Linked DNA regions of Homo sapiens: region 2 is linked to region 1. The links are contacts of gene promoters, found by promoter capture Hi-C in human tissues and cell types (Jung and others, 2019). All regions are on one chromosome and are shown on one strand. The core of a region is centred on a gene start or on the middle of the fragment in contact, and the rest is flanking DNA. Distances in the headings are between cores, read along the strand shown. Region 1 holds the start of DOK7 (docking protein 7). Region 2 overlaps RGS12 (regulator of G protein signaling 12).

Region 1 (6,011 bases), core at 2,104-4,603:
GACATTATGTTCTGCTGGCCTAGAGGTCTTAGTTCCAGAGGGAGGAACGCTGCCACCAGGAGACACAACTGTTCCATTAAGCTAGAAGTTAAGATTGCCACCTGGACACTCTGGGCTCCTCCTACCTTTAAGTCAACAGGCTAAGAAGGAGTTACAGTGTTGGCTGGAGTGATTGACCCAGACTCTCGAGATGAAATCAGTCTACAGCTCCACAAAGGAGGTAAGTAAGAGTATGCATAGAATTACAAAAGATCCATTAGGGCGTCTATTAATATTACCATGCCCTGTGATTAAGGTCAATGGGAAACTACAACAGCCCAATCCAGGCAGGACTACAAATCCCCCAGACACTTCAGGAATGAAGGTTTGGGTCACTCCACCAGGAAAAAAAAAAACATGAACTGCTGAGGTGCTTGCTGAAGGCAAAGGGAAATGGTGAAGGTGAAGGAGGAGCAAAGGCACCTCTTACATGGCGGCAGGCAAAGAGCATGTGCAGGGAACTGCCCTTCATAAAACCATGAGATCTCATGAGACTTATTCACTCTCATGAGAACAGCACAGGAAAACCCCACCCCCATGATTAAATTTCCTCCCACTTGGTCCCTCCCACAACACATGAGGATTACGGGAGCTAATATTATTAATACAATTCAAGATGAGATTTGGGTGGGGACACAGTCGAACTGTATCAGGCATCCTATGGGCAGGCCAGAAGTGTTGGTTACCCCTTCCACCCATGCCTTACTGGCCAGAACTCACTCATACAGCCTTACCTGATGGGGGCGGGGTGGTGGTACTGGGAAATGTGGATGCACAAACGGGTGTGACCACAGGGTACAGTGCTTGCCACACTCAGCTGACGTGTTTCTCTCCCACACACCAGGCCACTTGGAGATGCAAGACAAAGCAGCCCACCCCTGGTCCCCATCATCCCCTTGGAATCACCTTGGAAAACCCTGGATCATTTTGAAAGATGCTCATGGACGCCATCTCATTGGGGCTCATCACAGTATCAAGGTAGAAGAGGAAGCTGAGACCAGTAAGATCACATGGTGGCTGAAGGTGGTGTGGCTAGTCAGGGACAGGTCCCTTGGCCACAGAGCCACTGGCGGGTGGCAATGTGCCACGACCATGGGGTCTGGCAGAGATGGCAGTGTCCCTGGCCACAGTGTCCAGCAGCAGCATGGCAGCCGCAGCAGGGCTCTGTGGTCAGACAGGGGTGCTGCTGTGACCTGAGACTGTGGGCTCCTTTGAAGGTGGTGACCCTGCCCCTCGTGTGGAGCCCAGCTGTGCTGTGGGGCTGAGCTGTGGTGTCCTCCTCTTTCAGGATGTGGCTCTGTTTTCACTGCCTACCAGCTCTCCAGCCTTCCCCTTGGTTCTTGGAGACCTGATTTGCTTCCAATCAACCCCTTCCTACTCAGTGGCCAGCCTATTTCTCCATTTGCAACCAGCAACCCTGGCTATAACTTCTGGGGAAACTTCTGGCTATAACTTCTGAGGCACGGAGCGGGGCAGGAGCTTGCCCAGGGTCACAGCGCTCTCGGCCAGTCTGGGAGTGGCAGCCAGGCCACCTCCTCCTCCTGCAGGAAGCTTCCTCCACCTTTCAGCAGCCCTGGAGCCGCATGGAGCAGGGAAGGGAGTTGTCTACCCTCCGGCATCCTGTGTGTTCCAGGCTGTGTGGGAGCAGGTGCAGCTGCCAGGCATGGCAGGAGCCTGGGCCCGGGCCAGCACTCAGGAATGCAGCAGGGCCCTGCCTCTCCCTGTAGGGATAAGCAAGTGCCAGGCGCCCAGGGCAGCGGATGTGTCTGTGGCTACAGCCCCAACGGCCCCCGCCTCCGCACCGGCTGTCCTGGGCCAGCCCCTTGGGGGCCTGGGATGTGTGGGGAGCATGAATGGGGCTCTGTGACCCAGCAACTGTTCTGCGGAAGGCGGCTGGTGGCTGCACAGGTGACTGCGGGGGTGGGTGGGGGATGCAAAATTCTGCTTCCTGGGCCTGGTGTCCCCCGCCTTGCATGAGGCCCTGACAAGACATCACCGAAGCACCAAAGCCAACCCTTGTGGCCCACCGGAGACCTGTCTCTTGGATCACAGGGGCAGTGGGGAGGGGCGCCCAGGGCTCCCGATGCCTCTGAGCCCTGCTCTGAGGTCAGCCGATGTGGCTCAGTCCTGGCTGTGAGGCCTCACGCTGCCCTGATTCCATTTGCTCCTCAGTGCGAGGCAGACAGAGCCCAGCCTAGGGTCTGGATGGGATGAAATGAAGACGTCTCCTCCCTAACGGGACACTGTCTACCCCTTCCTTCTTCTCCCCCGAGAACCGTCAGCCCCGTGAGGATGGGGTCTAGGGTAGGGCATGTGGACGGAGCTTTGCTGTTTGTCCAGGTGCTTATCTTCTAGGGTGCCATCGCCCCTCCCCACTGCTGTTCCCGTATCTGCTGGGTGTCCCCAACCCCAGGGTGGTGGAGGCCGTCTCTCGGATGGGGCTGACACCCAAGGCACGGACCTGCCAGGTCCCCCAAAGCACATGGCCTCTCTGCAGAAGAACCTGGATGTGACATCTAATGCCCAGGCCAGAGCTTGGGGACAGCTGGACTGGAGCCACAGGGTCAAGGAGGGGGAGTCCAGAAGCGCAAAGTCCACCCAGCTGGGAGGGCTGCTGGCAGGTCCTTTACAAAGCAGGCAGCTCCTCTGCCCATCGGAGCCGGCTGGCCTAACCAGGGCCTGCTCTTGCCTGGGATGGGGGCAGAAGAGGTGGAGACCTGGGGCCCTGAGGCGGCACTGTGGGTCCTGGACCCGCCCACCTGCACTGGGGTCCCTGCAGGCTTTTAATGGGAACAGAAATGGAGGAAGAGACAGAGGCTGCCAGGGGCTCCCCGACCCCTACTGCCTGCCTGGGGAGGGGTCACCTCAGTGTGGGGGAAGCCTGGGGATGTGAGAGCATCCTAGGCCTGGGCTGCCTGTGGCCAGTCTGTTGTCCGGGTGTCTAGTGACCCCTGGGGTAGGGGCAGATGCCAGTCTGGGAAGCCGGATTGTTTGAAGACCAACTTTAAAGTTGGGAGCAGTGCCCAGAGCGGGGCCGATGTCTGCTAGGTGGTTGTCTCTGCTTTTTGAAAAAGAAGTCCCCGCCCGACCCCCGCCCCGCCAGGCGCTGGTCTGAGCGTCTGAGCCCAGATGGTGCGCTTGCTCCAGAGGGCGGGCGGCTCCAGTGGCCGCCGCGGGACGGTGGGGCCAGAGGGGCCCGTGGGGGTGGGGGAGCCGCCCGCAGGAGAAGGAGCCCCGCCCGCGCCGGCCCTGGAGTCGCCGGTGTCGCCGCCCTGCCCGCGGGCCCGCCCTCCTGGCCCAGCCCAGGGCCCTGCGAGCTATTTTGAAAGTGACCCTGGGCTGGGGCGCCGGGGCGAGCGCGGCGGCGCGGAACCATGACAGAAGATGACCGAGGCGGCGCTGGTGGAGGGCCAGGTCAAGCTGCGGGACGGCAAGAAGGTCGGGGCGCGTCGGGGGCGCGGGGGGGGGGGGCGCGGGCGCGGGCGGCGGCTCACGCTCCCCCCTGTCCCCGCAGTGGAAGAGTAGGTGGCTGGTGCTGCGGAAGCCGTCGCCCGTGGCAGGTGAGCGGGGCGGGCGGGGGACGGGGGGCGCGGGGGTAGCGACACGGGTTACCGAGGCCCGGGGCAGTAATGCCAGCTTGCCCAAAATCGCCGCCGCTGTCACCCCGCCGGGAAACCCGAGAGCCCCGTGCGGACCCGGACCCCCCGGCGCCCCTGGGAGCGCAGGTGGGGGCCCTGGACGGAAGAACCCTCTTTCCAGCAGGGCAGACTGAGGCCCGAGGGGCTGCCTGGTGGCCCTGTAGGCGGAGGGGACGCAGGCCCTGAGCCCCCCAGCAGAGCAGCAAGGGGCCCCCCAGAAGCAAAGCCCCACATACCTGAGGGTTGAGCTGTGCTTGTGGAAACGCTCAGAGCAGGGCCCCCGAACCCAGCCTCCAGGGGTGCTGCGTGGGTTAGCGCTGACCCTGGACCCCTCCCAGGCAGACGAGAGGCTGGGCTGCGGTAGGGCAGGGCAGAGTGACTGCCACATTGCTGGGGGAACAGTCCTCTGGGAGGAGGCAGGGGTCCCCCCCCAGTCCCCGCCCTGAGCCAGCACCCCAGCTTGGGGAGGGTCAGCATGGAGCCCCCAGGTCTGGCAGCCCAGGCCGCCTGCAGCGCTGGGCCTGTAGGGAGGGCTGAGCCGGGCCTGCAGCTGCTCCAGAGGACAGGTGCGGCAGAGCCGGCCAGGCCCGGGTCTGGGTGGGATGCTCGGCCTGTGTGCATGGGGGGCTGTACGCCAGGGGGCTGCCAGAGCACCCTCCAGGACGGGTGTCTGTGACTCCCAGGGAGGGTGTGGGGCAGGGATCCCTCCTGCGTCCCCTCTGCAGGGCCTCAGGTGGTCCTGGAGGAAAGCACTTCCTGCCTGCCTCCGCCTCCCCTTGCAGGGCCTGGACTGCACGCTGGTCACTTCTCCACTCAGCCCTCCGTGCCCAGACCTCCTGCCTGGAGCTGTGGGGGCACCGACAGAGCCTGGGAGGGCGTCTTTGTCCTCCGGGGCTGCAGGGGACCTGGTATAGGAAGGGATGGGGTCTGGGCAGAGTGAGAGGCCCTGCCAGGCTGGGGCGGATGACAGGCTTTAGTCAGCTGTGGCTGGGTCGGGGCCGTGGTGGGGCAGGTGATGCTTGGTGGATGGTGCTGGGCTGGAGCCGGTGCAGACCCTCCAGAGAGGCCGCATCCCAGGAAGGCACCCGGGACAGCAGCCCCCAAAGAGGAGTGTCGGGGGAGAAGTCTTTGTCCCTGTTGGAGGGATTTTCTTTCTGCATCAGACAGTCCCAGGAGGCAGGGCCTGCCAGCCTCAAGAGGGTGTGCTCCCCCGGCCGGTGAGTGCCTGAGTGGAGTGACAGGAGTTTGCAATGGGTCCCCCAGGTGGGACAATCTGTGAGTCTGTAGGTGAACATGGTGGCTCCCGAGCGTCTGCTGGGTTATCCCGTATCCTGCGCAGTTGAGATCTGCAGCCTTCTGGGGCTGGCGTGGGAGGTGATGTGGGGTAGTAGAAGGTGCCATGCCCCCTCTGGGTGGATGTTCATTCCAAGCCTTGAGGCCAGGTGTCCCTAGCACCCACTGACTCACTGGCCTGGGACCCATTGCTTTGGACACCTGCTTTCTGTGTTGGTCACTCCAGCAGCCCAGGGTTGAAACTGACACCCTGTGGGGTTGCCCAGAGGTCGGTCAGATGAGGGGATGGGACAGAGCGGAGTTCTCACGCCCACCTCCCCACCCTGACCAGGCCAGCCTGGCACCTCCTCTCCGCTCAGAGGCCCTGATGCCTCTTCCCCTGGCCCCTCATAAGCCTCCCTAGATGCTGCCCCCTTTGCCTTCACCCAGCTGCCTTCCCGCTCAGCGCTGGAGACCACCTCCCTTGTGGATGGGCCCGGCGTGGAGGGAGCAGGCCCCAGCCCTGGAGGAGCAGACAGCACAGACCCTGCGCTCCTGGTGTGAGGGAGAGAGGAAGGGTCCCGTCTGCTTCCTTGTAAGACAGGCAGGGTTCTTTTTGTTACCAGTGGTGATTTCCTTCTGGGAAGGGCCCCGATGTGCACCTTTTCCACTGGCACCTTTCTCCTCCTTGCGTTTTTCTCAATCGTGAGCACGTCTTTCTGTTATGACAAGGTTTAGCGAATGAAAGGGAAACCCTTTTATCAAAGGGCTGCTCAGCCACAGCGCCTGGCATGGCCAGTGGACGTCGGGCCGTCTGCCTCGGTGTGGGACTGCAGGGTGCCCTGCAGTGGGACCACGTTCCTCAATGTCTCCACCGCGTCCTCACTGCGGAATGCGTGTCTGCGTCCCCTCTCTGGGCAGGGCCCCGGGGGAGGAGGGTGGTCTGTGTCCAGTTGTGGCCCAGGACTCACTGCTGGTGGCCCTGCATGCCAGCGGCGCCTGGCCCAGCCCCTCTCTTCTTCCTCCCAGGTGCGGGGGCTGGGGGTGGTGAGGAAAGTGTTC
Region 2 (5,952 bases), core at 912-3,411, 37 kb before region 1:
TCACCGCAGGCACTGTCTGTTCCCTTTGGCAGCCTCTGTGTTGTTCACTGAAGAGGGCACACCAAGAAGCGGTGTCTTCCCCTGATCTGGTTGTCCCCCTTGGAGGAGAGGAGACAGCCTCTGCCATCCCCAGTTCTCGTTCTGTGCAGTGGGAGCCATCATGGTTTATTTGTACCTTGGTCATTCCAAAAAGAATTGATATTTGAGAGGTGGTTTTGCTCCAGGGAGGCCAAAATGAGAAACAAAGCAACCAACCCTGGACTATCCTCCGCTGTTGGCCAATGTGATCAGATAAGAGAGTGCGGATGGCCCTGCCCCCACTGCACCTGCTGGGCCCGGGCATTGTGCTCATGCCCCCAGTGCACGGTCACATGGAGATGTCCTGATTCTCACCTGCACTTTGTAGATGGAAGAACTCAGCTGGCATTTCCAGGCTGCGCCATTATGATGTGAATGGGGTTAAGAAAGAAAACACCGCGTGGGGTGGTGACCGCAGGTGCTGGGCAGGCCACGCGAGATGGCGAGAGCTGGGCCCCGCTGAGGGTGCTCTGGAGCGTGGGGGTTCCGGGCACAGTGTCTGCCTAGTCTTCTTTCCTTGAAAACTTTATTGGAGCAATGATTTCAAGTATTTTCAGGATTTTAGTTTTCCCTGAAACTACACTCAAAATTATTCAAGAGCTTTGAAGTGAACAAGAAGAACCTATTAAATTATTTACAGACACCACCTCCGAGGGTAACCTGAAGCCTCTTCCCCGCGCTGCAGGCTCCATCCTGGAGTCCAGAAATCTGCAGGTGGGAGACAGACCTGGCCTGGCTCCCAGGTGTGCCCCTCTGGCCGACTCTGGGGAGACGCTGCGCAATTGTTTAGCCCCTGTGTGTCACAGTTTCCCTGACTGTAAAATGGGGTTGGTCGTGGCAGCGTGCTCGTGGCATGGTTGGGGGGCACCAGGGTGGAAGGGCTGGCTGCGGTCAGGCTCGTTCCCTGTGAGCTGCGGCCCTCGGCTGCCGAGGCTGTGGGGGCTATGGAGGATTCGTGTGGAATGGGTTGTTTGGGATGTGGCTTTTCCTTGGACGCTGTCTCCTGACCTCTCCAGTGAATTCTGTGGCCCCCTGTGTCCACGAATGTGGTGGAGAAGGCGGGACCTGGGGCAGTTCCTCTGCTTCCCCCGCAGGGCCCACCACGCCTGCCCAGCGGACCAGCCCCTTCAGGAGCTTAGAGCCTCTCCCGCCTGGCATTGGACAGCTGTCATTCCCCTGACTGACAGATCGTGAATGCCAAACATGTTCAGATGTCTTTTCTTAACAGTGACTATGGCAGGTGAAGAGTCAGATTCTCTGCCAGAGGAGAGCTCTGATGCAGAGACAAGAACTCCAGCCCGGTGGCTAGTGGCGCTTCATTTCAGCCTCAAACCTGGTCCTAAAGTTGTCTGTCTTTGCTTCCTTGTTTACAAAGGGGAACATCTGCTCTCAGTATTCCCCTCATAGCAGTTTCGAGGGTCAGTATTTCCCTCATAGCAGCGTCCGAGGGTCAGTGTTCCCCTTGTAGCAGCGACCAAGGGTTGCCACCTCCTGCGTGATTCCATCGAGCTTAGGATGGTCGTGTAGTCGGGACCCATGTCAGGAGCATGGCTCAGCCCCAGCTTGTGTGCCTCAGTCAGGCAGGCCTCACCTCGGGGCCATCTCCTGCGTGACTCCATCAAGCCTAGGACAGTCATGCAGTCGGGTGGGATCACACACATCTGTTCCCTGAAGTTCCAGTCTGGGTAAATTATTCAGTGCTGATCTCTGCCCTAGAGTGGAGAGAAGGAGCCCCTGGACCTTGGCGCCCCTATATCGAGTCTGGACGGACAGCGGGTTGTCTTGGAGGAGAAGGATCCTTCCAGAGGAAAGGGTGAGTAGGGCTGGTGCAGCGGATGGGGAGAGGGTGAGTGGGTCCAGTGCAGGGGAGGGGGCTATGGAGCCGGTGCAGGGGAGGGGGTGAGTGGGGCCAGTGCAGGGGAGGGGCAGGTGGGGCTTGCGCAGGAGAGGGGGTGGGCGGGGCCTGCACAGAGTAGAGGGTAAGTGGGGCCAGCGCAGGGGAGGGGGCTGTGGCGTTGGCATAGGGGAGAGGGTGAGCGGGGCCAGTGCAGGGGAGGGGGCTGTGGCGTTGGCATAGGGGAGAGGGCGAGCGGGGCCAGTGCAGGGGAGGGGGCTGTGGCGTTGGCATAGGGGAGAGGGTGAGCGGGGCCAGTGCAGGGGAGGGGGCTGTGGAGTTGGCACAGGGGAGAGGGCGAGTGGGGCCAGCGCAGGGGAGGGGGCTGTGGGGCCTGCACAGGGTAGGGGGCAGGGGTTGGCATAGGGGAGAGGGTGAGCGGGGCCAGTGCAGGGGAGGGGGCTGTGGAGTTGGCACAGGGGAGAGGGCGAGCGGGGCCAGTGCAGGGGAGGGGGCTGTGGGGTTGGCATAGGGGAGAGGGCGAGTGGGGCCAGTGCAGGGGAGGGGGCTGTGGGGTTGGCATAGGGGAGAGGGCGAGTGGGGCCAGTGCAGGGGAGGGGGCTGTGGGGTTGGCATAGGGGAGAGGGCGAGTGGGGCCAGTGCAGGGGAGGGGGCTGTGGGGTTGGCATAGGGGAGAGGGCGAGCGGGGCCAGTGCAGGGGAGGGGGTGAGTGGGGCTTGTGCAGGAGAGAGGGCAGGCGGGGCTGGCCCAGGGGAGGGGGAGGCTTTGGAGTTAGTACACAAAAGAGAATTGGTCTGGGCCCCCTGGTCCCTCCTTGGTGCCCTGATCTGGCGCCCTTCCCTCCAGGCACAAAACAGGAAGCCAGGGCAGTAGGCGCCTGTGCTCTGCCCGGCAAAATGGAGGCTGCAGGCTCGGTCATTTGGGCTGGTTCTGCAGTTCCTTGCGTGCAGGGAATCGGGCGGTCGACAGAGCTCTTTCCAACGTGTTGCCTTGGTCATGACAGTCCTGCCCTGGGGAAGCTGGGTCCGGCCAGCAGCCTTCGGAGATGGGCTCGTCGCCCGGCCCCCACCTCATCCTGACGCGCAGGAGCCGGCCCTCCTTAGAGCCCTTGTTGAGAACCGTGCGTGAGGAAGGTTACTCAGACCCAGGAGGGTGGGTCCTGTTTGTAGCTGTCCCCAGGGACAGGCAGAGGCGTGGCCTTGGGGCCTGCAGGTGCAGGTGCCGTAGGGAGGTGTGTCTTGGAAAGAGCTTTCTGGAAACCCACCTGCAGATGTTCTAGGTAGAGAGCTCACTTTGTGAGGAGCCACTTCAGGTGACATTGGGCTGCCCCTCTGCCTTTCAGGTTGTTGGCCCTGATGATGTCACGCAGGGAGCACGTGGCTCACTTGTCCCCACCCAGGGAGACCTGGGCCATGGGTCCCAGTCAGAAGCAAGCGCTGAGGCCATTAGTCCTGGAGCTCCAACTCTTGCTCCCCTCCCCAACTCCTCACAGAGCAGAGACCCTTCCCCGAGCCCACCCTTTGCTCTAGGGAAAGCCTTACGCTGGGCCCTGACACCCACCCAGGCAGGTGGGGCAGGCACAGCATGTGTAACCCAGCAGGGCGGCCAGCAGCTTTGCCCCGGCTGACCCTCTGTGCCCAGGGCCTGCTGGGCCTCGGGGCTTGTTTGTGTACAGGCAAGTCCTGTGGTGGAGCTTGGCGCTCAGCGTTTTTGTAGGGCTGTATGTGGGGCAGGAGCGCGACTCCTCCAGTCACATTTGGGCCACAGAAATGGGCTTGAGGCCGTTAGTGCCAGCAGAGGCCAGCCTGTGGCCCTGGCATGGGGCAAAGGCTGTATTTGAAAATATGTCATGGACTGGCACAGTGGCTCATGCCTGTAATCCCAGCACTTTTGGAGGCCAAGGTGGGTGGATCACCTGAGGTCAGGAGTTCGAAACCAGCCTGGCCAGCATGGTGAAACCTCGTTTCTACTAAAAATACAAAAATTAGCTGGGTGTGGTGGCACATGCCTGTAATCCCAGCTACATGGGAGGCTGAGGCAGGAGAATTGCTTGAACCCAGGATGCGGGGGTTGCAGTGAGCCGAGATCGTGCCACTGCACTCCAGCCTGGGAGACAGAGTGAGACTCTGTCTCAAAAAAAGAAAAAAAAGAAAGAAAAGAGAAAGAAAATATGTCATAAATGTAAGACTCTGACTTTCTAGAGAATATTTATGCCAAATAGTATATGAAATGAGCTTTTCAATTTCAACATCACTCCTCCAGCAAGTCCCTAGTTAGATGTACGGAGCCCGGCTGTGTGCGTGGAGGACGGGCCCTCTCTCCTGTCCCATGGGGACTCCCCTCAGGGCTGTGCGTGGTGAATAAGGGCAGCAGATGCCTTGTGGCTTCTCTACAGCTTTGCTCTCAGAGACAGTAGGAGCAGGTTGTCTATGAAACATTCAGATGGATTTGCGAGTCCCTGAAGTCATAAAGCTTTCTTATGTTTAGCATCCGCAGATAAACAGAAAGGTGTGCCAGTGAAACAGAACACAGCTGTAAATTCCAGCTCCAGAAACCACTCGGCTACGGTAATTCCCCACCCTGGCCCACCCTGTGCCCTGCTCCTCTCGCTGTGGCCCCCGCCTGCCCTGCGCAGTGCCCTGGTGCTTCCTTACCGCCTGCTTATCACTGTGTGTCTCCCCCACGCTCCTTGGCGGGGTCTCTCTCGTCCCTGCCGATGCCCAGCTCCCTCTTACCTGTGAAGGACTGGCTTTCTTTTCTTCTGAGGTGGGAGTGGTTGTGCCTTAAATGCTATTCTTGTTTGTAATCCTTATCATTGCAATGGTTTTTCTGCAATGCATGTAAATTCTGTATCAATGCAATCTATTTCATAGAGCCTTCTACTCTCTAACTAATGAATGATGTATTGTCGTGTATTGAAATGAAAGTAGAACTTTGACTTTCCTTCTAATGCAGGGAGAGGAAAGAACACTAGGCAAGTCTAATTCTATTAAAATAAAAGGAGAAAATGGAAAAAATGCTAGGGATCCCCGGCTTTCAAAGAGAGAAGAATCTATTGCAAAGATTGGGAAAAAAAAATATCAGAAAATTAATTTGGACGAAGCAGAGGGTATGTGAACTTTTTAAAACTTCCACGTTTTTAGTAAATGCACAGTTAGTTTCCAGTATAGTCAGTAGATCTGCTTTGAGCTGTCAGCATCTGGGTGACTGCGGTCCGTCCCTGTGGCCTGGAAGACATGTTTCTCCCGGGGGCAGTCTGTGGGCTGTTGGGATCACTCCACCGAAACCCCAGTTTTGAGACTGAGTGCCAGGCCTCCTAGGGCATCAGGGGCAGCCGATGTGAGCAGCACTGTCTGCCCTGAGATGCCAGAGGCCCCCGCAGGCTCTGCCTCCCTCTCACCCCAGCTCCTCCCTATGGCCCCACCACTGGCTTGTGCCAGGGTCCCCAGCGTGACTGGAGGCACAGTTAGCATTAGAGAGTCCACCCTAGGCAGAGCTGGGCACCCAGGTGAGGGGAGGTGGAGCACACTGGTCTGGAAGGACCGTGGGCTTGCTGAGCTCTCTTGGCTGCGGGGGTCAGTGAGGAAGGTCAGCCTGCACACCCCTGGCCTCCAGGAGAGACAACAGGCACACTGGAAGACTGAGATGGAGAGATGAGTCCTTTCTTGAAGCTCCTTTTTCTCCAGAAGTTTATAACAAGGAGAAGCATTGAAAACAGAGTCAAAACCAGCAGCTGTCACCGTGACCTGAATTTTCATCCAGGGCGTACTTGCCAGTCCACCTGGCGTGTCACGGCTTTGTCACAGCTGGCTGTGGAGTCTGACCTCACGGTAAAACTAAAACACACCTCCAGCCTTTGTTGGCCACCGAGCACAAGTAAATCACACGCCCTCTTTGAAGCTTGTATGTTTCTGAGAACCAGTGAAGTCAGAGATTTGAGGTTCCTTGTAGTTGTTAAAAACTCCGAGTATAATTCCAATGCTAGAGAAAGCCCAGTTTAGACGCCATCTACCTCGAAT

Evidence for each region. Contacts are between HindIII fragments. The study calls those that stand out against the background at their distance.
Region 2: a fragment that was not itself captured here is called in contact with the fragment with the promoter of DOK7 in region 1 in 1 of the 25 tissues and cell types used here (mesendoderm cells).

Annotation. Positions count from the first base shown.
Region 1 is chr4:3,459,953-3,465,963 of GRCh38, forward strand. It overlaps DOK7 (docking protein 7), which reads left to right and starts at 3,354. Exons shown (of 7, transcript NM_173660.5): 1 at 3,354-3,477; 2 at 3,554-3,599. The coding sequence starts at 3,424. RefSeq lists enhancers at 2,132-2,979, 5,897-6,011. The HindIII fragment of the contact is 11,592 bases long and covers 1-6,011 here.
Region 2 is chr4:3,423,670-3,429,621 of GRCh38, forward strand. It overlaps RGS12 (regulator of G protein signaling 12), which reads left to right. Exons shown (of 18, transcript NM_001394154.1): 14 at 1,795-1,891; 15 at 4,421-4,500; 16 at 4,889-5,042. Among named protein-coding and RNA genes, the nearest start is that of HGFAC, 15 kb to the right of the region's middle. RefSeq lists an enhancer at 517-1,016 and a silencer at 772-923. The HindIII fragment of the contact is 5,915 bases long and covers 1-5,119 here.